2 separate regions of the Homo sapiens genome follow, and region 1 is linked to region 2. Evidence: promoter capture Hi-C in 16 types of primary human blood cells and fetal thymus (Javierre and others, 2016). All regions are on one chromosome and are shown on one strand. The core of a region is centred on a gene start or on the middle of the fragment in contact, and the rest is flanking DNA. Distances in the headings are between cores, read along the strand shown. Region 1 overlaps ZKSCAN5 (zinc finger with KRAB and SCAN domains 5). Region 2 holds the start of OR2AE1 (olfactory receptor family 2 subfamily AE member 1).

Evidence for each region. The method cuts DNA at HindIII sites, captures the fragments that hold promoters and counts their contacts. A CHiCAGO score of 5 or more calls a contact.
Region 1: a fragment that was not itself captured here is called in contact with the fragment with the promoter of OR2AE1 in region 2 in 4 of 17 cell types (M2 macrophages, M0 macrophages, erythroblasts and 1 more); the score reaches 7.1 in M2 macrophages.

Annotation. Positions count from the first base shown.
Region 1 is chr7:99,529,219-99,535,923 of GRCh38, forward strand. ZKSCAN5 (zinc finger with KRAB and SCAN domains 5) reads left to right here. Exons shown (of 7, transcript NM_145102.4): 7 at 1,890-5,482. The coding sequence ends at 3,031. Among named protein-coding and RNA genes, the nearest start is that of FAM200A, 20 kb to the right of the region's middle. The HindIII fragment of the contact is 1,206 bases long and covers 2,180-3,385 here.
Region 2 is chr7:99,875,289-99,881,915 of GRCh38, forward strand. It overlaps OR2AE1 (olfactory receptor family 2 subfamily AE member 1), which reads right to left and starts at 1,745. Exons shown (of 1, transcript NM_001005276.1): 1 at 774-1,745. The coding sequence starts at 1,745. The coding sequence ends at 774. The HindIII fragment of the contact is 12,247 bases long and covers 1-2,289 here.

The sequences.
Region 1 (6,705 bases), core at 1,533-4,032, 350 kb before region 2:
CAGCTTCTGCCTCCTGGGTTCAGGCGATTCTTCTGCCTCAGCCTCCCGAGTAGCTGGGACTACAGGCACCTACCACGATCCCTTGCTAATTTTTGTATGTTTAGTAGAGATGAGGTTTTACCATGTTGGTCAGGCTGGTCTTGAACTCCTGACCTCAGGTGATCCACCTGCCTCAGCCTCCCAAAGTGCTGGGATTATAGGCACGAGTCACCACACCCAGCCTGCTACATTTTCTTTATCAACTCATTGCTCAACGGGCACTTAGATTGGCTCCATATCTTTGCAGTTGTGAATTGTGCTGCAGAAGACAGGCGCTTACAGTCTTTTTGGTATATTGTCTTTTCCTTTGTGTAGATATACCCAGTTGTGGAATTGCTGGATCAAATGGCAGATCTACTTCTGGTTCTTGAAGAAGTCTCCATACTGTTATCCACAGAAGTTGTATTAATTTATCTCTCACCAGCAATGTATAAGCGTTCCCTTTTCACCACATCCATGCCAACATCTATTGTTTTTTGACTTCTTTGTTTTTTTTGAGATGGAGTCTCGCTGTGTTGCCCAGGCTGGAGTGCAGTGGCGCAATCTTGGCTCACTGCAACCTCTGCCTCTTGGGTTCAAGCAATTCTCTGCCTCAGCCTCTGGAGTAGCTGTGATTACAGGGCACCCACCACCATGCCCAGCTAATTTTTGTATTTTTAGTAGAGATGGGGTTTCACTGTCTTGGTCAGGCTGGTCTTGAATTCCTGACCTCGTGATCCACCCACCTCGGCTTCCCAAAGTTCTGGGATTACAGGCGTGAGCCACCTGCACCCGGCCTTTTTTTTTTTTTTTTTTTGAGATGGAGTCTTGCTGTTGCCCAGGCTGGAGTGCAATGGCGCAGTCTCGGCTCACTGCAACCTCAGCCTCCTGGGTTCAAGCGATTCTCCTGCCTCAGCCTCCTGAGTAGCTGGGATTACAGGCGCCCGCCACCATGCCCAGCTAATTTTTGTATTTTTAGTAGAGATGTGGGTTTCACCATGTTGGCCAGGCTGGTTTCGAACTCCTGACCTCAGGTGATCTGCCCGCCTCGGCCTCCCATAGTGCTGGGATTACAGGTGTGAGCCACCACGCCCGGCCTTTTGACTTCTTAATAATGGCCATTCTTGCAGGAGTAAGGCAGTACCTTATTGTGGCTTTAATTTGCACCTTCCTGATGATTAGTGATGTTCAGCATTTTTTTCATGTTTGTTGGTCATTTGTATATATTATTTTGAGAACTGTCTCCATGTCATTTGCCTACTTTTTGATGGGATTTTTTTTTTCTTGTTGACTTGTTAGAGTTACTTGTAGATTCTGGATATTAGTCCTTTGTCTGATGCATAGTTTGCAAATATTTTCTGCCATCCTGTGGATGAGTCTTGCTCTTTTCGTCAGAAAATTCCAAAAGTTTGTTGTTTACATTCCTGTTGGCATCAAGTACACACACACATCCACCTCTGTTACTCCCGTTACATCATAGTTTCATCTGATGAACATTTTTTATGACAGTTTATTTTTCCTTTATAAAAGAACTGATGGGCCAGGCACGGTGGCTTAAACCTGTAATCCCAGCACTTTGGGAGGCTGAGGCGGGTGGATCACCCAAAGTCAGGAGTTTGAGACCAGCCTGGCCAACATGGCAAAACCCCATCTCTACTAAACATACAAAAATTAGCTGGGTGTGGTCATGCACGCCTGTAGTCTCAGCTACTTGAGAGGCTGAGGCAGGAGAATCACTTGAACCCAGGAGGCAGAGGTTGCAGTGAGCCGAGATCGCATCATTGCACTCTAGCCTGGGCGACAGAGCAAGACCCCATCTCAAAAAAAAAAAAGAACTGATGACATTTTCACTTGCTCTTTATTTTTTTTAGGCAGTGACAAAAGAAGTAAGAACACAAAATTAAGTGTTAAGAAGAAAATTTCAGAATATTCAGAAGCAGACATGGAACTATCTGGAAAAACCCAAAGAAATGTTTCTCAAGTTCAAGATTTTGGAGAAGGCTGTGAGTTTCAAGGCAAGCTGGATAGAAAGCAGGGAATTCCCATGAAAGAGATACTAGGACAACCATCTTCAAAGAGGATGAACTACAGTGAAGTCCCATATGTCCACAAAAAATCCTCCACTGGAGAGAGACCACATAAATGTAACGAGTGTGGGAAAAGCTTCATTCAGAGTGCACATCTTATTCAACATCAAAGAATACACACTGGGGAGAAACCATTCAGGTGTGAGGAATGTGGGAAAAGCTACAACCAACGCGTGCACCTAACTCAGCATCAGCGCGTCCACACAGGTGAGAAGCCCTACACCTGTCCCTTATGTGGGAAAGCCTTCAGAGTGAGGTCCCACCTTGTTCAGCATCAGAGCGTGCACAGTGGGGAGAGACCCTTCAAGTGTAACGAATGTGGGAAAGGCTTTGGGAGGCGTTCCCACCTGGCTGGACATCTTCGACTCCACTCCCGAGAGAAATCCCATCAGTGTCGTGAATGTGGGGAAATCTTTTTTCAGTACGTTAGCCTAATTGAACATCAGGTGCTCCACATGGGTCAGAAAAATGAAAAAAATGGCATCTGTGAGGAAGCATATAGTTGGAACTTGACAGTGATTGAAGACAAGAAGATTGAGTTACAAGAGCAGCCTTATCAGTGTGATATCTGTGGAAAAGCCTTTGGTTATAGCTCAGACCTCATTCAGCATTACAGAACTCATACAGCAGAGAAGCCCTATCAATGTGATATATGTAGAGAAAATGTTGGCCAGTGTTCCCACACCAAACAACATCAAAAAATCTACTCCAGCACAAAATCCCATCAATGTCATGAATGTGGCAGAGGCTTCACTCTGAAGTCACATCTTAATCAACATCAGAGAATCCATACTGGTGAGAAACCTTTTCAATGTAAAGAATGTGGAATGAATTTCAGCTGGAGTTGTAGCCTCTTTAAACACCTGAGAAGCCATGAGAGGACAGATCCCATAAATACCTTAAGTGTAGAGGGGTCTCTGTTGTAGAATAGCTCTTAATTTTAGAGAAACCTTCCTGGAGGGAAACCATACTCCTATAATGAGCAAAGTAACAACTTCAAGCATTTTTCCAGCGTTACCATCAAACTCACAAATAGGTTGAAATCCTTTAGTTATAACTCAGCCTTTAGGAACACCGGAGAACCCACAATAATAGAAATCTTTTCGTGTTCCCCATTGAGAAATGCTTTAGTTAGCATCTTCATGCTTGGAAATCTAGACAAGAAGAGAATCCATGGATGGACATGGTCGAGGAATTCGGAAAGCCTGCAGTTGACATTCAGTCTTCACTTGAAACTCAAAACTGACACTAGGAACAGCTTCATGAGTTCAGTAGAAGTAAGCTTTATTTGTAGCTTCTGCCTTGTTTGACGGCGTATCTATTCAGGGAAGCGCACAGTAAAAGAATTCCTTAGCATGATGTCTGTTTTGGTACCTCAGCAATGAACCTTTTCTAGAAATTATTATTCCAACCACTAGAATACCCTAGTCACTATTCCCACTTTGAGCATTAACCCCTTTGAAAAGAAATGGACTTAAAGTATCTCTGTTTTGGCAAAATTCAGGTTCAGGGGCTGGATGGTATGTGTTTCTGCTGCCTTATTCAATCCACCACTTCTCTGTGAAACACTCTACCTTGTTTTTGGTTTGATTCTACTGATGTCAGGGTTTAGCCGGTAGAAGGAGTAGTTCAGTTTGTCAATTCAGGAGAAACTGTACTGGTCAGTCACATCTTACGGCGAAGGGAGAGGGACCTTAGGGGAGCAGAGAAGACAGGCAAAGTTGTGGACTGTTTGATCTTGTATTACCCACAGGAATGAGGGCAGCTAAACCCATAGAAGGAGTTGGACCAAGGCGAATTACGAGTCCTGGTCCCAGCAGTATGTGTGCTGACTTCTGGGTGCCCCAGAAATAGACCTCTCCTGTAGAGTGGTGATATACAGAATGAGTTTCAGTTTGCATTGCAGCTGGGATTGAAAGTAATCAGTCGTGAGCAGGCAGGCAGGAGGTCCTGTTAGCCCTGCCTTCCAGGAAGGTTGGGGTGGGAGTTTTGAGTGGGAAAGAGGATGACATGTGTGAGAGAGTTCTGAGCCTGTTTGCTAGGGAGAGTGAGTGAGTGCTCTTGGGCACTGCTCAGGCCGTTTCTGCTGACTTGCCTGGCTTACAATAAATGCCCAATAAATATTTGTTGACCATATGTGTTGTACACTGTGGTGCCCTGTCCAGTCCCCTCTACCAAGCTGAGACCCCCATCCCCAGCTGCTCTGAGTTTGGGCTGCAAGTGCTCACAGCTCTTGTTCTCCAGAAACTGGAGAATTGCCCTCAGGAGATGAGAGCCATCTCACCTCACCCAGGAGTCACTTCCTCTCTACACCCCAACACCTGGTTCATTTGATTAAAGCGGAGAAAACTCCAGGGTGCTATGACTGCTCTGGCACCCTTGGATCAGGCCAAGCTAGACTTTTTCTGAGCCTTCATCCGTGCTAAGCTCTCTCCCTTCTCTATCCTGTTTCATTCCCTCCCTCAAAGGCGTTTCCCAAATAAATCACACTGTCAATCACATGGTTCTGAATCCCTGTCTCAGGCTCTGCTTTAGAGAACCTGATCTAAGACATTTGGTGCCACAAGTGGTCATAGGAAGCTGCTGTGAGAGTGGATTGTGGAGTTGGTCACTCGCCAGGAGGGAGTGAAGACCCGCATCACTGTTAATAGTCCTGGCATGTGGTACCTGTCCAGTCACTAAGTCATTCACTTGTGGGGAACTGGGATGAGATACAGGTGGAAAGCGATCTATTGACTTGTAGAGGTTTGGGACAAACAGGAAAATAAAGATTATGGAATTGGGTGGCTCTTGCTGAAAGTCACTGAATCCTTGAAGAGAAGAAAATGACAGGGCAAATAACCACCAATTTAATGCCAAGTGTGTGTCAGAGGACCTTCTTGGTAGCTTTTTAATTTTTTTATAGACAGGGTCTTGCTCTGCTGCCCAGGCTAGAGTGCAGTGGTGCAATCACAGCTCACTGCAGCCTTGACCTCCCGGGCTCAAGTGGTCTAGCCACCTCAGCCTCCTGAATAGCTGGGACTACAGGCACATGCCACCATGAGTGGCTAATTTTTAAAAAACATACTTTAGCTGGGCGCGGTGGCTCATGCCTATAAACCCAGCACTTTGGGAGGCTGAGGCGGGCAGATCACGAGGTCAAGAGATCGAAACCATCCTGGCCAACCAACATGGTGAAACCCGGTCTCTACTTAAAATACAAAAATTAGCTGGGCATAGTGGCGCATGCCTATAGTCCCAGCTACTCCAGAGGCTGAGGCAGGAGAATCGCTTGAACCCGGGAGGCAGAGGTTGCAGTGAGCTGAGATCACGCCACTGCACTCTAGCCCAGTTGACAGAGCGACAGTGTCTAAAAAAAAAAAAAAAAAAAAAAAAAACATTTTTTGGAGAGATGGTATCTCCCTATGCTGCCCAGAGTGGTCTCGAACTCCTGGGCTCAAGTGATCCTCCAGCCTTGGCCTCCCAAATGTTGGGATTACAGGCATGAGCTACTGCACCTGGCCTTGGAGTGATTCTTGAAAGCTTAGAAAAGTCAGTGGCCCACATTAAATGACGTAGAGATGACAAAACCATGGCAGACTTAACAAAGGGATCCAAAGATTCATACATACACAAACTAGGATGGAACTAGAAGATAAGACCAAGCAACCCACCTTCAGTTATGTTCCTTAGGAGGGTCTGGAGAGCATTCTGTTTACCAAGGTTCCAAGGAATGCCCTGGTTGGGGGGCCATCAGCATCACTGAGAAGCTTGGTAGTGGCTATCCTGGTTTGCAGGGGCTGGTTATTATATAACATCACCCCAGACCATTCACATTACAGCCAGAGGTGCAGCAGTGGGCATGTGGCCATGGGGACCATTGTTTGTTTGTTTTTTGTTTTTTGAGACAGGGTCTCGCTTTGTCACCCAGGCTGGAGTGGAGTGGCATGATTACAGCTCACTGCAGCCTCAACTTCCCGGGTGCCAGCGATCCTCCCACCTCAGCCTCCCAAGTAGCTGGGACCAGAGGCATGTGCCACCATACGTGGTTCATTTTTGTATTTTTGGTAGAGACAGGGTTTTGCCATGTTGCCTGGACTGGTCTCAAACTCCTGAGCTCAAGCAGTCCACCCGTCTCAGCCTCCCAAAGTGCTGGCATTACAGACATGGGCCACAGCACCAGGCTATTTATTTTCTATTTTTGGTAGAGATGGGGTCTCACTATGTTGCCCAGGCTGGTCTTGAACTCCTGGGATCAAGGAATACTCCTGTCTCTGCCTCCTAAAAATGTTGGGATTATAGGCATGAGCCATCATGCTTGGTTCATACACTCTTTAAACCAACAGCCATTAAAAGGTGCTGTCTTTAATAGGCAGAATAAGGCCAGGCACTGTGGCTCATGCCTGTAATCCCAGCATCTTGAGAGGCCAAGGCAGGAGGATTGCTTGAGCCCAGGAATTCAAGATCAGCCTGGGCAACATAGTGAGATCCTCCCTACTCTGCCAGTGCCCCACCGTCTACAAAAAATAAAATAGATTAGTTGGGTGTGATGCTGCATGCATCTGGACCTAGTTACTTGGGAAGCTGAGGTGGGAGGATCACTTGAGCCCAGGAATTAAAG
Region 2 (6,627 bases), core at 495-2,994:
GTCTAAGAATATAACTTTTAGGGCCAGGTGCAGTAGCTCACGTCTGTAATCTCAGAACTTTGGGAGGCCAAGGTGGGCAGATCACCTGAGGTCAGGGGTTGAAGACCAGCCTGACCAACATGGTGAAACCCCGTCTCTACTAAAAATACAAAAATTAGCCAGGCATGGTGGCACGCGCCTGTAATCCCAGCTACTCTGTAATACTCAGCTACTCCTGGCTGAGGCAGGAGAATCACTTGAACCTGGGAGGCGGAGGTTGCAGTGAGCCAAGATCGTGCCACTGCACTCCAGCCTAGGTGACAGAGAGAGACTCCGTCACAAAAAAAAAAAAGAATACAACTTTTATATCATGCATCCTCCCTTTCAAACAGCCATCATTCACCATTTACTTCCCATGCTTCCAAAAGTAAGCAACACACTCCAATTTTAAACTCCATAAATACTCTCTGGTGGCATGTTTTATATATTTTTGTTAATAAAAATAATAATAGATAAGGGCCCTTATATCTTTATCTTGCCTTCTTTTTTTCAGGGTGTCAGTGACCTTTATATGTCTTCTTTCAAAGGGACTTTTTAAAAAGTTTTCCCTAATTCTCTAAAGATCTACTCAAATGTTCTCCACAGTGCTTGGATACCTGACACCAAGCTGGAATACTGGAATTGTGTGTTAAATGTGTTTTTCTTCCAGTAGTAAAACAGCATAAGGAAGCTATCTCCCTGAAAAACTTTAGAGGTTTATATGAATTAATTTAAGGAGCTTATCCTATTCCACTCTACACTCGGGGCAACCACAATTGCAGTCGTTGAATGCACTGGGTGATAACATCTCTCCTCAGCACTCTTCTCAGAGCCTTAGCTACATCTTTATTCCGGAGAGTATAAATCAGAGAATTCAATGTGGGCGTAATGATGCTGTAGAACACAGAACCAACTTTGTTCTGCAATAGAGTGCACTGGGACCTGGGTCTCATGTAGGAGAAGATGCAGGCACCAAACCAAAGAGAAACCACCGTGAGGTGGGAGCCACAAGTGGCAAAGGCATTTCTCTTGCTCCCAGATGAGCGCATCTGAATGACACTTTGAAGGATGAAGACATAGGATGTAGAAATCAGGAAGATGGGGAGGAGGAGGAGAATGCTGCTGATGTACACTGTGGTCTCATACACAGTGATGTCGCCACATACCAACTTCACAACAGCTGGGAACTCACAGTAGAAGTGGTAGACTTTCCGAGGCCCACAGAAAGGGAAGTGCATCAAGATCGCCATGTGAATTAGGGAGTTCACGGATGCCCCCAACCATGACATGACAGCCATCATCAGTCCCACCTTCTTGTTCATGAGCACAGCATAGCGCAGTGGATGACAGATGGCAACATAGCGGTCATAGGACATGACAGCTAAGAGAAAACATTCAGCACCACCTAGACACAAATAGAGGAAGTGCTGGGTTGCACAGCCCACAAAGGAGATAGATTTCTTGCCAGATAGGTAGTTGGTAGCCATCTTCAGGATGATTGTGGAGACATGCATCAGATCCATGAGGGAGAGCTGGCTGAGCAGGAAATACATTGGTGTATGAAGCTGGGGATCAATGCAGATGAGGAGAATGGTGAGGGTGTTGCCACTCACCGCAATAAGGAAGACCACCATGGTCAAGGAGAAAAGGAAAAGGTGGGTAAGGGAGTCATCGAAGAGCCCCTCAAGGATGAAGTCTGCCAGAGAGGTCTGATTCTTCTGCCACATTGTCCCCTTTCTCAATCCCTGAGGAAACAGAGAGTGGAGATAAAGAGTGTGACTGGAAATACTGGGGTCCAGTATACCCAAGGAAAAGCACCTTTTGATAGAGGACAGAACCTGTGAAAAAAATTTCCGTTTCTAATTATTCAACCTCTCTAATTATTCAAATAACCTTTTTTTAAAAGAGAGCTTAGAAATCTGCCTTCACAAACATAATCACTCTGAAATTTCAGAATATCTGGACTCTATTATCAAACTTCAAGTCTCTTCTCGTTAAGAAAGATATATATGTGTGTGTGTGTGTGTGTGTATGTATATGTATGTGTGTATATATTTATTCCCCATTTACTTCCTAGGCTTCCAAAACACACATATGTATACACACACACACACACACACACATTTGTCTTTCTTAATGAGAAGAGACTTGAAGTTTGATACTTAATGGAGTCTAGATATTCTGAGATTTCAGAGTGATCATGTTTGTGAAGGCAGATTTTTAAGCTCTCTCTCTCTATACAGACACACACAGAGAGACAGTTTGGAGAAAAGCTTGGGGGCGTTGCTTATTTTATCAGTGAGGATTTTACTAGAAAAGCTATAACACTAAGAGATTTCTCTTATACAATTGTGGAAGCTGGTTAGGCAATCTATGCGTGGCTGTTACCTTTGTGTCTGATGCTGGAACTTTAATTCCAGAGGGCAAGTAGTCAGGAAAAAAAAAATGGATATAAAGAGTGGCAGATCAAAGTCATGCTGGAACCCACAAGCATGAGCTGCAATCCCACAAAGGCAGACTGAAACCCATGTCAGTTCTTGTTGTCTCTGAAATTGGCGGTGTGGATATCCTGCAGAAGCTGGGGCGCCTCTTTTTTTTTTTTTTTTTTTTTTTGAGTTGGAGTCTTGCTCTGTCGCCCAGGCTGGAATGCTGTGGCCCGATCTCGTCTCACTGCAAGCTCCGCCTCCCGGGTTCATGCCATTCTCTTGCCTCAGCCTCCGTAGTAGCTGGGACTACAGGCGCCTGCCACCACACCCGGCTAATTTTTTGTATTTTTAGTAGAGACGGGGATTTCACCGTGTTCGACAGGATGGTCTCCATCTCCTGACCTCGTGATCCCCCCGCCTCGGCCTCCCAAAGTGCTGGGATTACAGGCGTGAACCACCGCACCCGGCCGCTGGGGCGCTTCTTAATGGCCAGATTAAAAATGCACACACCTGGCCGGGCGCGGCGGCTCACGCCTGTAATCCCAGCACTTTGGGAGGCCGAGGCAGGTGGATCACGAGGTCAGGAGATGGAGACCATCCTGGCTAACACGGTGAAACCCCGTCTCTACTAAAAATACAAAAAATTTGCCGGGCGTGGTGGCGGGCGCCTGTAGTCCCAGCTACTCGGGAGGCTGAGGCAAGAGAATGGTGTGAACCCAGGAAGCGGAGCTTGCAGTGAGTGGAGATCGCATCACTGCACTCCAGCCTGGGCAACAGAGCGAGACTCCGTCTTAAAAAAAAAAATAAAAAAAAAAAAATAAAAAAAAAAAAGAATGCACACACCTGACCCAGAAGTCAGAAAAACTAAAGGAGAATCCAAGGGAAGGCCTTTTGAAGACCATCTGGTTGGCAACACGTTTTGGTGCTGGGGCAGTGTCCTCTAGGATGTGAAATATACTCTAAATCTGCATCCAATTTATGCTGCTCTTCCTCCCATAGCAAGATTCATGGAACCAGAAATCACCAGGTAGAAGAGAGAATGAGTCCTCTCACTATAGCCCCCATAACTGTGACCCACCAGCACAATTTTAGTTTTCTATCCCTTCACTTTTAGCTTTTGCTGTTTTAGAGGTCTTAGTTCCAAAGGGAGAAATTCTTCTACCAGGTGTCACAACAATAATCCCATTTTCTGATAGTTAAGACTGCCACCATGCCACTTGGGGCTCCTCATAGAACTGAATCAATAGGCAAATAAGGTTACTCTATTGGCTAGTAAGACTGATTCTGACTAGCAATGGGAAATTCAGTCACTACTATACAGTGAGGATATGGAGAATTATGTCTGCAGTCAGATTTTCTAGGGTGTACTCTCATGTCTCATGATGTAAGCCAATAGAAAACTACAACCCAATTCAGACAAGACTGCTAGTGGCCCAGATGCTTCAGGAATAAAGGTTTGGGTTACCCCACCAGGCAAAGAGTCATGAATAACTGTAGACAAAGAGAATTGGAATGGGTAGTGAAAGCAAGTCGTTATAAATACCAGCCAAAAACCATGTGAGCAGCTACAGAAACAAAAACTGTAATAGTTATGGGCATTTATTCTGTGTGTGTGTGTATGTGTACTGAATATTTGTTTTCTTCTCCTCTGTCATCCCCCGTATCTAACATAAGATGTATTAATAATTGTTAATTTCAGGCAGGGGACAGTGGCTCAGGTCTGTAATCCCAGCACTTTGGGAGGCCAAGGCAGGCAGATCACCTGAGGTCAGGACTTTGAGACCAGCCTGGCCAACATAGTGAAACCCTGTCTCTACTAAAAATACAAAAATTAGCCAGGCTTGGTGGCACATACCTGTAATTGCAGCTACTCGAGGGGCTGAGGCATTAGAATCCCTTGAACCCGGGAGGTGGAGTTTGCAGTGAGCCAAGATTGTGCCACTGCACTCTAGCCTGGGCGACAGGGCAAGACTCTGTCTCAAAAAAAAAAAGTAATCTTAATTGATTCCTCAAATATCCACCCTATTCTTTTTTGTGTTTTTTCTCCTAAATGTCTTTCTAGACCTTCATGCGGTGACGATTATCTATTTACTTCTTAAAGCAAAGAACTCAGAACTGAATGCATTCTCCCAAGCATTTGATCAGTAAGAAAGAGGTCACATCTGGCCGGGCGCGGTCGCTCATGCCTGTAATCCTGGCACTTTGGGAGGCCACGACAAGTGGATCACCTGAGGTCAGGAGTTCGAGACCAGCCTGACCAACATGTAGAAACCCCGTCTCTACTGAAAATACAAAATTAGCCGGGCGTGGTGGCGCATGCCTGTAATCCCAGCTACTCCAGAGGCTGAGGCAGGAGAATCGCTAGAACCCAGGAGGCAGATGATGCAGTGAGCCGAGATCACACCATTGCACTCCACCTTGAGCAACAAGAGCAAAATTCTGTCTCAAAAAAAAAAAAAAAAGTCACATCTATTACTGTCTCTCTCCTAATGCAGTCTACAGTCTCATCTTTCTGGCTGTCACTTCACACTGTTATTTCACACTCAGCTTCTGGTGGACTAGAAGCTCAACTTCTCCCATGCTCCTCCTGATCACTCCAACCCATTAGAGATCTCCACACACTTCCCTTTTATTTAAGTATCCATATACTTCTCTATCACTTTCCACATTAGTGTCCATCTTTCTCTACAAATCTCCATGGTGTAAGTTTTTCACCATCTGACCTGTGTCTCTCTTCCTCCCTTCAGCAACTTTGCTAATAATTTCCCATTCTGATTTGTGGCCTTCAAGTGACTTTTTTTTTTCTCTGCCTTCCAAGGAAGCTTTCCTTATGGATTGACTTAAGGGATAAGCTGACAATGCCCTAATTTATAATAAAGGTTTCCTAAATACCTCAAGCCCTAATATTATCTTACCTGTTATTTCCCTGCAGAGACTCGTAGGAAGACAAAGCATAGAAATGAAATGCAGAGGGCAAGAGAGGTCCACACTGACCCACCTGTTGGCTACTGTTGATCAAAACAAGCCTTTTCTGAGGTGCTCACCAGACTTCCTTCCCTAAGCCTGGAAATTTCCATTTACGTTACATTTACTGTGGAACGGCATAGAAGAAATTGCCCCAACGCAGGCATTGTTGTTTGCACTAATTACCCTAATGGCAGAATATCACCAGGACCAATGGGACACATGTGTGTTCATATTGTGAGCTCCATCAACACACATCAGGACAGATTAAGTAACTGAACTTTAGCCTCTACTAGTTGGACCTTTGAATCACACATATGCTTCCTCTGGCTCTATATGTATATTTGAGACAACCCTCCATTCCAATATCGGAGCTTGGGCAATAGGAATTTCCATTAATATTACTTTATTAAGAAGGTAAACTGAATACCAGTTTAATCATGAATGTGCCCAGAGTCAAAAGAAAATCTGTTATGGTTTTCCATTGTTTTGGATCTCTCAAGGCACTCTCTTCTTAGCTTTACACTTCCTTCCCTACTTAATAAAATATGAATTTGGCTGATGCAGTCAGGAAGCACTTTTCTGACTGCATAAATGTCTTCTCAATAGTAATCATGGGGGTTAGAGTAAGAACATTCTTGGTCTGATGTGAGCCAATCATAAGAAAAAACAGACATCATCTGGGAGAAATAAAACATCCCCCTAACCCAGAGGACCTATGTCAGCTGAAGCAAATTGTGGACACTAAATAGAATGGCGTCAGGGATTCCATCCCAGAGGACACATCTTGCATGGCTTCTGGAGACCATTACTCAAGATGTCAATTAGACTGTGCTGTATGCACTGAGATAAGCATCCCCAAAGGGCTTTACTTGGAGTTTGTTCCAAGTGATCAGGAGAATGAGATATTTTGCGGAGTGAGCCTGAAGATAACAGGAGAATATTCTCCTCAGGGGCCAATTAACTGTGGAGATAAAAAATTCTTAGAGTCCCTTGATTGTTTTTCACTTGGGAACCCAGATTTCTGTAACGCCTTTCCACGCAACCCTTTTGAGAAGACAGTCTGAGTAATAATATCTAGTCTCTTTTGCCCACAGGACCCTTTTGAGGGTTTCCATGTGCCATATCATAGGAAAGAAGTCAAGGAATAGAGGCAGGCAGTTCCCATCCTAGCTGTTGATCGTACTCCAATTTCATAGACTACATGAATATAACATGT